3 separate regions of the Homo sapiens genome follow, and regions 1 and 2 are each linked to region 3. Evidence: promoter capture Hi-C in 16 types of primary human blood cells and fetal thymus (Javierre and others, 2016). All regions are on one chromosome and are shown on one strand. Each heading gives the region's core, a stretch centred on a gene start or on the middle of the fragment in contact. The rest is flanking DNA. Distances are from core to core; before and after follow the strand shown. Region 1 overlaps LOC105377642 (a long non-coding RNA gene). Region 2 overlaps DCLK3 (doublecortin like kinase 3). Region 3 holds the start of TRANK1 (tetratricopeptide repeat and ankyrin repeat containing 1).

Region 1 (4,452 bases), core at 111-2,610, 240 kb after region 3:
TTCATGCATAGTGTCATGCACCTGTGGTCCCAGCTACTCGGGAGGCTGAGGCACAAGAATCGCTTGAACCGGGGAGGCGTAGGCTGCAGTGAGTCGAGATCATGGCACTGCACTCCAGCCTGGGCCACAGAGTAAGACTTTGCTTCAAAAAAGAAAAATTTTTTAAAAAGAATTCATTTTTGGCCAGGTGTGGTAGCTCACAACTGTAAGCCCAGCACTTTGGGAGGCCAAGGTGAGAGGATTGCTTGCGCCCAGGAGTTTGAGACCAGCCTAAGCAATATAGTGGGACCCCATCTCTACAAAATATAAAAAAATGAAAACATTAGCCAAGTGTGGTGGTGCGCACCTGTAGTCTCAGCTACTCATTCTTTAAATAAATGCATCCTGAAGGCCTGCTATAGACCAAATCCTACTCTGCACACAGAGCACACGGCAGTGGACAACAGACAAATTCCCTATCTGTGAGGATCTTACATACAATATACAAATCATAAATAAGATAATAGTGCTGTAAGAATATTGGAACAGGGTGAGAATGAAAGGGTAGGGTGGAGTTGCTATTTTATAAGCTTGAATCCTATGAAATTACTGATTTTTAAAAATAATTTTTGACCTGAGAATGACATTACACCTTAGGTTTGAATGGTTCAATCCAGTTGTGTGACATTAGGGTCATATGGTTCAACTTAATACTTGGAAGAGTCAGAACTAATGAGGTGATCGAAAGAAAGAGAAGCAAGCCATGTAAATACCTGGGAGAAGAGCATTTGAAGCAAAGGAACAGCAAGTGCAAAGGCCCTAAAACAAAAATGTGCCTGCCATGTTTAAGGAGCAGTAACAAGGCTGAAGAGTAAAGGACAAGTGGGAAGAATGGTAACAGAGGCCAGATCATACTGGTGACCATGGTAACAAATTGGCTTTTCTCCTTTTTTTTTTCCCCCTTAAGACAGGGTCTCACTTTGTCACTCAGGCTGGAGTGCAATGGCGTGCTCATAGCTCACTGCAGTCCTGAACTTCTGGGCTCAAGTGATCTTCCTGCCTTAGCTTCCTTAGTAACTGGGACTACAGGCATCCAGCACCACGCCCAGCTAAGTTTTTTTTTTTAAGAGATGGTATTTCATTATGTTGCCCAGGCTGGTCTTAAACTCCCGCCCGCAAGTGATCCTCCCACCTCAGCCTCCTAAAGTCTTCCAAAATGCTGGGATTACAGACGTGAGCTATCACGCCCAGCCTGGTTTTTCCTCTTTGAGTAAGCTAAGCCGTGGGAGGGTTTTGAGCAGAGGAACTACACATCTGCCATTATTTAAAGGAGTATTCTGTTAATGGTAGAATATAAGTGGTGGATGCAGAAGTGATTGCTGTAAAATTCTTTCAACTTTGCTGTGTGTTTGAAATTTTTCCTAATAAAATAATAGTTTAAACTGGTTATTGTGAATAGACTTTAGGGGAGCAAAGGTGAGAGCAGGAAGACCAGTTAGGCTATAACAATAATTCAGGTAGCAGTGGAAGTGGTAGGAAGTGGTTGGGAGCAGATGTGGTGTTTGAATTACAAGTCAGTAATTCAGAGGAAATACCAGGTAGGAAATACAAATGTATGAATCCACCTAAAGATTAGGAAAACAAGGACAAATGTCTTGAGAATTAAAAGAAAATGCTCAGAAGTGTACCCTAAAGCCTCTTACTCATGCTTTTGTTCTAGGCTGGTTTTGGTTGTAGATAGTTATCAGTTATTATATACTGCCATTCAGATTATTTATATGTATTACTGTCCACAACTCACTTGTGTTCTAAAGGGTTTTTTTTAATAATGTTCTTGTCTTCCCAAGCAGATTACATGCTTTTTGAGAAAAGATCTATTTTTTTGTATACACCCCGCAATGCCATATTCCTAGAAGGCATTTTCAATGTTCACAGAATAAAAATATTTGAATACAGAGCTTTTCATGTCTTTTGTTTTTATAAAACATCAATTTTCTTATAAATGTTTAATTTAGACACTTCTGAAAATGAAGGTAGAGTTAGAATTTTCAATCTGTTGCAACTTATGCCCATTTCAGGTCAGACAAATAAAGAGAGAGCCTTCTGGGGGGTAAAAAAAAAAAAAAAAAAAGGCCCAGGTTTGTGCCTGTAGTAGTAATGTCAGCTACCTCAGGAAGCTTGAGCCCAGGAGTCCAAGGCTTATATGGCACCACAATTGTGCCTGTGAATAGCCACTGCACTCCAGCCTGGGCAACACAGCAAGATCCTGTTTCTTTTAAAAACAAAACAAAACAAAAAAAACCCCAATCAGCTTTTCTCCATATTGGCTTATACTCAGACTTCATCATGTGGCAACAAGACAGTTCTCAAAAACTTTAGTTCTATATTCACTCCAGTCCAAGTCCAGCAAGAGATCCCTTCCAGTAGCTCCTAGATTCACTGAACCAATTACCTTGCTACAGTAATTTGTTAAAGGATAGAGAGTTACCTTCCCATCCTTTAACAAATTACTGTAGCAAGGAAAACTCTTGTGCTATGATTAGCCAAATTTGAGTCATATGCTTTACCTCTGGTCCACCCAAAGATCATGGACTATAGGAGAGGAGTGGTTCCCGGAAGAACAAAATGGAGTACTGTCACCAAAATATAGAAATGGATACTGATGGTGAAAACACAATGCTTACTACACCAACTAACTCAAAGGCCTATGCATTGTTTCTTCCTTAAGCTTTTGAAAGAAGTTAGTCACTGCCATGGCACTCACTTTGAATCTCTTCCAATTCCACACACAATACTGCATTTTTTCCCCTGAATCATCAGGCAGTCATATATTCAGTTGCCATTGAAAAGTAAATGCATGATTATGAAAGTTAACCAGCTGGAAGGGTCAGTATTTCAGTACATCACTTTTCAGGACACTCCCAACTGGTATTGCAGGTAGTTTCTTGTCCTTAAAATTCTTTCCTGTTGTCAAGCTACCTGAAACGTATTTGTCCTCGATACCCTAGGGGCAGGGTGGCTGATAACTAAGGTGCCTGGGAAACACTTCAGAAGCAAGTGACAATGAATTGGCTTAAGAAGCCAATTCATCTTTTAGATGGATATTTATACTGTAGAATCTTGAAAGGAAAATTTATCTACAGATATGTCTGTTTTCAGTTTCTTTTCCTTTTTGCACTAACAAGTTATTTTCCCCACATGACGTTTAATCTACCTTACAAAACATTTTTAACATTTTAGTTCAAAATTTGCTTCAGAAAATGGATGACTTTGGTGTGAAACGATTGTTGACTCTATTATTCTAGAATTTGGGATGGCGCCTCTAGTTTGCTGCTTCCTTGGACACCAAACATAACATTCTCTGTTCTAGGACGTGCTTCAAGTCGGTCATGAGACTGGCAGAAAATCAAACCAAACTAAATGAATGGTTGTTGAAGTTAATCTCCCATCCTGGAGCTGTGCATGCCATGGAGTAGCCAGCTTTTAACAGGCACAATCCTGATCAAAATCACTGCTCTGTGGTCCTGCTCATCAGAATATTATGGAAACTAGATTTAGGCCTGGTTTCCTTAAAAATAGATGTGATAATGAAATAATCATGTATTATAGCCATTACAATTTCTATTGTAGGAGAAAGTGGATAATGTTTTAACGTAAAACAGTAGGTTACTAAACAATATGTTCTAGATGAACATTTAACATTTTTGTTTTAATTAGCCAGGCATGTGTGATGACCTACGCCTGTAGTCCTAGCTACTCAGGAGGCTGAGACGGCAGGATTTGCTTGAGCCCAGGATTTCAAGGTTACAGTGAGCTTTGATCACATCACTGCACTCCAGCCTGGGTGACAGAGCAAGACCCCGTCTCACAAATAATAATACAAATACAGAAAAAATACTAGAAAACACACCCAAATGTTAAGTTTAAGGAATGGAACTATCAGTTATTTTATTTTATTTTTATTTTCAAAAATACTCAAACGTGAAATATACCACATCTGCGGCCGGGCACGGTGGCTCACGCCTGTAATCCCAGCACTTTCGGAGACTGAGCCGGGCAGATCACCCAAGTTAAGGAGTTTGAGACTAGCCTGGCCAACATGGTGAAACGCCGTTTCTACTAAAAATACAAAATTAGCCAGGCGTAGTGGTGCACGCCGGTAATCCCAGCTACTTGGGAGGCTGAGACAGGAGAATCATTTGAACCAAGGAGGCAGAGGTTGCAGTGAGCCGAGATCGAGCCATTGTACTCCAGCCTGGGCGACAAGAACGAAAGTCTGTCTCCAAAAAAAAAAAAAATTGTCTGTTACTGCTATGGTCTGAATGTTGTGTCCTGCCAAAACTCATATGTTGAACTCCTAACCCCCAAGGTGATGGTATTAGAAGGTGGGGCCTTCCTGAGGTGATTAGGCCATGACAGCAGAGCACTCATGAACAGGATTAGTGCCCTTATAAAACAGGCCTAAGAGACACC
Region 2 (4,452 bases), core at 1,008-3,507, 220 kb before region 3:
AAATTTAGCTTCTCAGCTGCATTAGGCACATTTCAAGTGCTCAAAAGCCACTTGTGGCTTGTGGCTACTATATTGGGAAACACAGATAGACACACTTCCATTGTTGCAGAAAGGGCTATTAGACAGCATTGACTTAGAACAAGGATCAAGGATACTTTGAGCACAGACTAGCTTTCATGAGCATTAGAAAATGCCTCTGGGCAATGCAGAGGCTGGGCAGAGGGAAAAAAGAAAGGAAAAAGACTGGGAATTAAAATGAAGAAGTATGGGGCAGGGGTGAGGGGGAGATAGGGACGGTTAATTGGTACAAAAAGAATACTTAGAAAGAATGAATATGACCTATTATTTGATAGAAAAACAGGGTGACTATAGTCAATGATAATTCAATTGTACATTTTTAAATAACTAAAAGGGTATAATTGGATTGCTTGTATTAGGTTGGTGCAAAAGTAATCACACAAGGATAAATGCTTGAGGGGATGAATACCCCATTCTCCATGATGTAATGATTATGCATTGCATGCCTGTATCAAAACATCTCATGTACCCCAAAAATATATGCACCTAGTATGTACCCTGATATGGTTTGGCTGTGTCCCTACCCAAATCTCATCTTGAATTGTAACTCCCACAATTCCCACATGTTGTGAGGGGAACCCGGTGGGCAGTAATTGAATCATGGGAGTGGGTCTTTCCCATGCTGTTCTCATGATAGTGAATCAATCTCATGAGATCTGACAGTTTTAAAAATGGGAGTTTGCCTGCACAAGCTCTCTCTTTGCCTGATGCCATCCATGTAAGATGTGACTTGCTCCTCCTTGCCTTCCACCATAATTGTGGGAAGGCCTCCCCAGCCATGTGGAACCATAGTCCATTAAACTCCTTTTTTTCCTGGTCTCAGGTATGTCTTTATCAGCAGCATGAAAATGGACTAATACAGTAAACTGGTACCAGTAGAGTGGGGCACTGCTGGAAAGATACCCAAAAATGTGGAAGTGACTTTGGAACTTGGTAACAGGCAGAGACTGGTACAGTTTGGAGGGCTCAGAAGAAGACAGAAAAATGTGGGAAAGTTTGTAACTTCCTAGAGACTTGTTGAATGGCTTTGCCCAAAATGCTGATAGTGATATGGACAATAAAGTCCAGACTGAGGTGGTCTCAGATGGAAATGAGGAACTTGTTGGGAACTGGGACAAAGGTGACTCTTGCTACATTTTAGCAGAGACTGGTGGCATTTTGCCCCTGCCCTAGAGATTTATGGAACTTTGAACTTGAGAGAGATGATTTAGGATATCTGGTGGAAGAAATTTCTAAGCAGTAAAGCATTCAAGAGGTGACTTGGGTGCTGTTAAAGACATTCAGTTTTATAAGGGAAACAGAGCACAAAAGTTTGGAAAATTTGCAGCCTGACAATGCAATAGAAAAGAAAATCCCATTTTCCAAGGATAAATTAAAGCCGGCTGCAGAAATTTGCCTAAGTAATGAGGACCCAAATGTTAATCCCCAAGACAATGGGGAAAATGTCTCCAGGGCATGTCAGAGGTCTTCATGGCACCCCATCCTATCACAGGTGTAGAGACCTACAAGGAAAAAGTGGTTTTGTGGACTGGGCCCAGGATCCCCATGCTGTGTGCAGCCTAGGGACTTGGTACCCTGCCTCCCAGCCGCTCCAGCCATGGCTGAAAGGGGCAAACGTAGAGCTCGAGTTGTGGCTTCAGAGGAAGCAAGCCTTGGTCAATTCCAAGTGGTAGTGAGCCTGCCATTGCACAGAAGTCAAGAATTGGGGTTTAGGAACCTCTGCCAGATTTCAGAGGATGTATGCAAACGCCTGGATGTCCAGGCAAAAGTTTGCTGCAGGGGAGGGGTTCTCATGGAGACTCTCTGCTAGGGCAGTGCAGAAGGGAAATGTGGGGTCGGATCCCCCAAACAGAGTCCCTACTGGGGCACTGCCTAATGGAGCTGTGAGAAGAAGGCCACTGTCCTCCAGCCTTCAGAATGGTAGACCAATGACAACTTGTACCATGCACCTAGAAAAGCCACAGACTTTCAATGCCAGCCTGTGAAAGAAGCCAGGAGAGAGGCTGTACCCTGCAAAACCACAGGAGCGGAGCTGCCCAAGACCATGGGAACCCACCTCTTGCATTAGCGTGACCTGGATGTGAGACCTGGAGTCAAAAGAGATCATTTTGGAGCTTTAAGATTTGACTGCCCCGCTAGATTTCAGACTTTCATGGGGCCTGTGGCCCCTTTGTTTTGGCCAATTCCTCCCAGTTGAAATGGCTGTATTTACCCAACACCTGTACCCCGACTGTATCTAGGAAGTAACTAACTTGCTTTTGATTCTACAGGCTCACAGGAGGAAGGGACTTTACTTGTCTTGGATGAGACTTTGGACTGTGGACTCTTAAGTTAATGCTGAAATGAGTTAAGACTTTGGGGAACTATTGAGAAGACATGATTGGTTTTGAAATGTGAGGACATGAGATTTGGGAGGGGCCAGGGCAGAATGATATGGTTTGGCTGTGTCCCCACCCAAATCTCATCTTGAATTGTAACTCCCACAATTCCCACATGTTGTGGGAGGAACCCAGTAGGAGGTAATTGAATTATGGGGGCGGGTCTTTCCTGTGCTGTTCTCATGATAGCGAATCAGTCTCACGAGATCTGACAGTTTCAAAAATGGGAGTTTGCCTGCACAAGCTCTCTATTTGCCTGCTGCCATCCATGTAAGATATGACTTGCTCCTCCTTGCCTTCCACCATGATTGTGGGAAGGCCTCCCCAGCCATGTGGAACCATAAGTCTATTAAACCTCTTTTTCTTCCCAGTCTCAGGTATCTCTTTATCAGCAGCATAAAAACAGACTAATACATACCCACAAAAATTAAAAATTATGAAAAATGAGGAAGTAAACTAATAAGCAGGAGAGAGATGTTAAATACAGGCCCTCATTTGGAGGGGTGGGGGATTAAGAATCAAACAGGCCAGGAGTCTTTGAACAATTCCAACTCCAAGACTTGAGGCTGGATGGTCTTGGACAAATTTCTTTACTCATCTGAGCCTCTGTTTTCTCATTTGTTAAAAAAAAAAAAAAATGGGCCGGGCTCGGTGGCTCATGCCTGTAATCCCAGCACTTTGGGAGGCCAAGACGGGCGGATCATGAGGTCAGGAGATCAAGACCATCCTGGCTAACACGGTGAAACCCATCTCTACTAAAAATACAAAAAATTAGCCAGCCTGATGGCGGGCGCCTGTAGTCCCAGCTACTCTGAAGGCTGAGGCAGAAGAATAGCGTGAACCCAGGAGGCGGAGCTTGAAGTGAGCTGAGCTCGCGCCACTGCACTCCAGCCTGGGCGACAGAGCGAGACTCCGTCTCAAAAAAAAAAAAAACGGGGGGTGGGGCAGGTGCAGTGGCTTACATCTGTAATCCCAGCTCTTTGGGAGGCCAAGGTGGAAGGATCACTTGAGGCCAGGAGTTCAAGACCAGCCTGGGCAACACGAGGAGACCCCACCTCTACAAATAGTAAAAATATTAGCCAGGCATGGTGGTGCATGCCTGTGGTCCCAGCTACTTGGGAGGCTGAGGTAGGAGGATCACTAGAGCCTGAGAAGTCGAGGCTGCAGTGTGCCATGATTGCACCACTGCACTCCATCCTGAGCAACAGAGTAAGACCCTGTCTCAAAATAAAAGAGGGGAGAATGGGAGTGACAGTTTCCAGCAAATAGGCTTATGTCACAAGTTTCATTCAATGTCTGTAATCTGCCTAGCAAAGTAATAGCTCTAGAGTGACCAAAAGGCCCAGTTTGCCTTGGACCTCCACCAGGTTTTAGAAAAGGGTAGAATTGGTCAATTTTTAAAATAGAGAAAAGGCACACTCACCTTCACTCTGAATGAATACAGAATCTCAAATGCTCCTTCCTTTTTCCCATTCAAAACTTATCCCACCTGTCTCACTCTTTCAAACAAGTCCAAGTGACTGGCTTTCTCATCTCTGGTAAGCCAAATCCCATTGCCAAGTTAGTATGTCCTGTCCTCCTCCCCCAACAAGGGATTTGATACAAGATTATGACTGTTGGATCTTAACCTAAAAGAAACTAATCACAAGAGGTAAGTGTGGCAAGTATTTAGGTCACTATGCTAGAAAAAATAAAACTAAATTTCACATGAAAAACCAAACCATGAGGGCGCAAACCCAGCATATCTTGCAGCAAGTAAAAGATGCATCGGTGCCGCCTGCCATTAAATAAGTTTTCCAGTTTGAGGGAAGGTTAAATAATCAGACACAAGTCAATACTCCAGCCTCCTTCCAAACTAGCTTGTACCCACACACGTAAGGCCCTGTTTCTCATGGTAGAAGCTGATTGCTCAGACCAAAGGTGAACTAAGCAGTTAATTAGACCACTGTGTGAAAACTTACTAGAATAAATTTGGGCAATCTTATCCAAGCAGGAG
Region 3 (4,674 bases), core at 1,563-4,062:
GAGAGCCATGGACTGGGAAGTCAAGAGATAAGTTGTCTAATCCCAGATCTAACACTAACTCGTTGGTAATGACTAACAAGTGATGGCCTTTCTGGGCCTTAATTTCTTCATCTATAAAATGATCGTGGTCCAGCTCTTGATTGCAGCTGTGAAATTCTGAGACAAGACCCAAAGAATCCTTTTAGAAAACTATGAATCCAAGGCTGCAGTAGGGTTGCAGCATCTTCCCTTCTTCTTCCTCAAAAAAAAAAAAAAAAAAAAAAAAGAACAGGAGCTATTATGCCCCTACCTCCCTAGCATTTACACCAGGCCCCACTGGGATCCATGCAGGAGGCCAGCTCTCTGTGGACACATAGCCAGAACCAAAGTAACCAGAAGCATCTGCGGTCTGTCTTTGTAGATGGTACTGGCTTGAACCACACAGCCATGTCCTACAGTATTCTATCACTCAAGTATGAATTTCAGTCTACTTCATCACTCCTACACCAAGTCCTCACTTCCAAAGTCAACTCCCCTGTGAAATGCTGACGGTCTCCTCATACTCTGGGAGAGCGGCGGAAACAGAACCTGCAGTTGCCCCATAAAGCTGGTCAGTCGGTCATAAAGTGAAGTTAACAATTTATGACCCGCTTTAAAAAAAAAAAAAAAACATAGAATGGGCCGGCGTGGTGGCTCTGGCGTGTAATCCCAGCACTCTGGCAGGCAGAAGCGGGTGGATCACTTGAGATCAGGAGTTTGAGACCAGCATGGCCAACATGGCGAAACACCGTCTCCACTAAAAATACAAAAATTAGTCAGGCTTGGTGGCGCCCCACCCCCGGCCCCCCGTAATCCCAGCTATTTCGGAGGCTGCGGCAGGAGAATCGCTTGAACCCAGGAGGCGGAGGCTGCAGTGAGCCGAGATCGCCTCATTGCACTCCAGCCTGGGTGACAGAGCGAGAATCCCTCTGGTGGGGGGTGGGGGGAGGGAATAGAATGGAAAATATCATTGTGCCTCACCCTGTAGAAAGAATAACTATACCATGAAGCTCTTGCTGCAATTTTACATGTGTATGTGTGTGTGCGTATATATGTATATATAATATTACACACATATTATGCATATATACATTATATACATATAGGTGGGTGGGTGTGGGTCTTGATCGAAAAAAGACCTAGAAACCCATACATAGGCCAGTGGCAGTGGGATGCGACTCTGGGAGTGAATGCCACACACACCTATCCCACCTCTACCCACCCCCCCACCCCCCGCAGAGGATGCAAAAGCCAACAAAGAGCATATGAACTCAAGCACCTATCCTGCAATCCTACAAAACAGACCTGCCTGGAAAACAGTTGAAACAAACTCCTGACCACCGTCCCCGCCCTCCAACACACACACACCGTAGTACTTTTTTTTTTTTTCTATAAAGGACCAAACAGGATGCCATCCGGATAACAGCCTTATATCAAAAAGGATCCTGGAACCCAAAACGCTCAGCACGAGGGAGCAGGAGCGCATACCTACGCTGGGAACACAAGGCTTTAATCCCAGCTATTCCTTCCCGCATAAGGACTAACTGAGCCAGCAGCAACTGGGTTGGAGCAGATAGGGGAACTAGAGACCTCAGAGCCCCATTCTCTTTCTGCTTCTTAAATTTTTTTTTCTTTTATTTTCCAAATTGCACACTTCCATAAAAATTTTCCTAGGAAGCACCAAAGCTTTCAACTGCCCAGAAACACCCCGATCTGGGAGAAAAGGTGGCTTGAGCTGCACCTCAAAGATGGGCTCTATCTCAGCCGGGTTGCAAGTGCACAGGGCTCCCCGCGGGACGGAGACAGGGAGTTGGGAGGAAACGCAACGCGCCTCCCAGGCAACAGACTCCGAGCTCCGGTTCGGAAACGCTCCGAGGCAGAAGCAAGGGCTTCTAAGGGCTCCGCTTCCCAGCCTTGGGTCCCTACTACTACCTTCCCCCTAGACTCGGTGAGCCCAGGCTGATGGACCGTGCAGTCCAGTTTGAGCCAGCCCAGCAGCCCTCAATCGGGCGGGCAGGGAAGAAGGCCTCCTACTGCCGGGAAGAGGCCAGCGCGCTCCAAGTTCCCCGCAAATTCCGCCCTTCCCGCCTGGCACGGTTCCCTTGCACCGCTGTGCTCCGCTCCCAGGTTTCTGCCCGCCAAGAATGCTTGCCCCGGGGGCGCGCTCGCTGGTCAGGAACCTGTCGGCAGCCCCCGGGAACCCCTGAGGATGCGGAGGTGGGCCCGAGAGCTGCGGCTTCGATGCCGGGGTGGGAGCTAGGCAGGCCGCGCGCCGCCGCAGTCCTGTCGCAGCGCGTGCCCTGGTCCCTCCGGACCGAAAAGGCCGAAGCCGTCCCCCGCGACCGACCCCGCGCAACTGGCTCGGGTCTGCACCTAGATGGCTGTGGGCCCCACAGGGATGGCCGGGCGGGCCCGTTCGGCCGCTACCTCAGGGTCGCCAGTCCCCGCGCGCGGCCGCCTCCCGCCAGGAAGGGTGGCGGGCCCGGAAGGCCAGAGATGCCCCAGTGCTTCCCGCGCCGCTACGCACCTAGCTGCCCGCGGGTCCCACATGGCTGCGGCCGGAGGGTCCGCACCAGGACCGCCGCCGCCTGGGGAAGCGCTTCCCTGTGGGCAGGGCGCGGCGGGCAGTGCGGAAGCCCGAAAGCTACCGGAGCCCGGGGCAGGGGCGGCGCGATGCAGAGGCGGCGTTCGGGGGCCCCCAGCTGCCTGCGGCTCGGCTACCCAGCCGCGATCAGAGGGGGCGGGGGACGCAGGAACCCCGGCGTCCGGGCGGTGTGCAGCCGCAGACCTATTCCAAGTTTCCACGTAGTTGCGAGAGCCCAAAAACTGTCACGTGCACGTCGCTGCTGAGTGGGAGGAGGTGTTTGTCATCGCGTTCAAAAGGGGCGTTTCGGTGTCTCCCGTCATGCAAGCAAATGGTATGGCTCTCGGCCGCCTTTGAATAAACGAGTGCTTCGAACCCTTTACCAGGAGGGACTAGGCGCACAACCACCTCCGACACTCCTCGGGCATGCGAGAATTCGGCTTTCCTTAGTGGGGCCCATCAATGTTGTCCGGGAGGTAAAGAAAGTGATCGGCCAACGGCCTCAGCGTGGGTTTTCTCCTTCCCTCGTTCCTCCCTCCAACAAAGGACGTACGGAGAACAAGCCCCCTAGCTCCTACAGATGAGGAGCTCAGGAGTCGGGCGAATATCAAGTACTTACTGTGTGCTTGCCCCTCCACTCTGGGGAGGCTGGGGGTCCGGGAGTGAAGGGGGCAGCGAGACCGCGGGCTGCTCCACGCTCACCGTCGTGTCCATGGAGAGTAAGTGCGCACAGGCCTGAGCAGGCAACAAAATGAGGATCTTGCCTTGTCTTTCCACCTCCCCAGTGATGATCGACAGAGTAGTGGGTCGGAGAGGACCACCTCTGGCTGCTACCTCCCCAGCGGTTCTCGGCCTAGGGAGCCGGTTTGGTCTTCACAGCTTCTCTGGGCCTGGGAGTACTTTCCTACACACCAGAGAATCCACCCAATCAGAGAGCTAAGCCCGCCGCCCTCCCCTGGGGCAAGGTTCGGCCTACACTGCATCCCGGTGGTTCGCCCATCCTTCTGGGGGACCACCACACCAGGCTGCCTGGTGGCAGGGAGGACACCACCAGAGCTTTAGTGAGGGGGACCACACATTTCAGCGAAACAGAGAGGCTTTGGTAACACGTGGACACACCTAAGGCACACAGTATACTTCTCTCCACTGGTCATTCTGCGTTGTGAACTAGTCTCAGTCTAGCTAGTGGTCTCCTTGCTTCTAGAATCTCACAGAGATTTCTGTGCATTGATCTTCCCCAAACATCAGGATGAATCACGTACAGTTCAAAAGCCATCAGTGGCACTCCATTGTCTCCTAGAGATCAGGTTAGGTACCCGGGCATTTGAGATTCTTCTTCACAATCTTGCCCCACATTTCCAATCTTAGCTTCCTCATGCAAACTCTATACTGCAGTGCTTCCCAACCTTAGTTACACAATAGAATCACCTGGGGAGCTTAAAAACAAAAACAAGGCCGGGCGGGTGGCTCACACCCGTAATCCCAGCACTTTGGAAGCCTGAGGCAGGCGGATCACCTGAGGTCGGGAGTTTGAGACCAGCCAGACCAACATGGAGAAACCCCATCTCTACTAAAAATACAAAAAAAAAAAAAAAAACCCAAAAATATGCGTATGTTTGGCTTTTACTCCCAAATTGTCTAATTGACATGGGCGTCAGGAATTTTTGTTTTTGTTTTTGTTTTGAGACAGTCTCACTCTGTTGTTCAGGTGATTCTCCTGCCTCAGCCTCCTGAGTAACTGGGATTACAGGTGCCCGCCGCCTTGCCCGGCTGAATTTTTTAGATTTTTAGTAGAGGCGGGGTTTCACCATGTTAGACAGGCTGGTCTCAAACCCATGACCTCAAGTGATCCACCCACTTAGGCTTCCCCAAGTGCTGGAATTATAGGTGCAAGCCACCACACCCAGCCACATCAGGATTTTTAAAAGACTATAACATGCTGCAAAGTTTGAGAATCACTGCTAGCCACCAAATAGTTGGACTACTTGCTATTTCCCAGACATCATTGGTCCTTTCACTTTTAGGATACTTTCCATATCCTTCCTCCAATACTTTTCCCAACATCCCCCAAT

What was found. Contacts are between HindIII fragments. The CHiCAGO score rates a contact against its expected background, and 5 or more counts as called.
Region 1: a contact is called between a fragment that was not itself captured here and the fragment with the promoter of TRANK1 in region 3, in 1 of 17 cell types (neutrophils). The highest score is 5.2, in neutrophils.
Region 2: a fragment that was not itself captured here is called in contact with the fragment with the promoter of TRANK1 in region 3 in 2 of 17 cell types (M0 macrophages and M2 macrophages); the score reaches 5.8 in M0 macrophages.

The regions. Positions count from the first base shown.
Region 1 is chr3:37,180,799-37,185,250 of GRCh38, forward strand. All of the region lies in intron 1 of LOC105377642 (a long non-coding RNA gene), which reads left to right. Among named protein-coding and RNA genes, the nearest start is that of LRRFIP2, 8.4 kb to the left of the region's middle. The HindIII fragment of the contact is 1,587 bases long and covers 568-2,154 here.
Region 2 is chr3:36,721,937-36,726,388 of GRCh38, forward strand. The region is part of intron 2 of DCLK3 (doublecortin like kinase 3); the gene reads right to left. Among named protein-coding and RNA genes, the nearest start is that of DCLK3, 40 kb to the right of the region's middle. The HindIII fragment of the contact is 7,854 bases long and covers 1-4,452 here.
Region 3 is chr3:36,942,242-36,946,915 of GRCh38, forward strand. It overlaps TRANK1 (tetratricopeptide repeat and ankyrin repeat containing 1), which reads right to left and starts at 2,813. Exons shown (of 24, transcript NM_001329998.2): 1 at 2,546-2,813. The coding sequence starts at 2,568. RefSeq lists a silencer at 2,461-2,680 and an enhancer at 2,911-2,980. The HindIII fragment of the contact is 7,723 bases long and covers 1,703-4,674 here.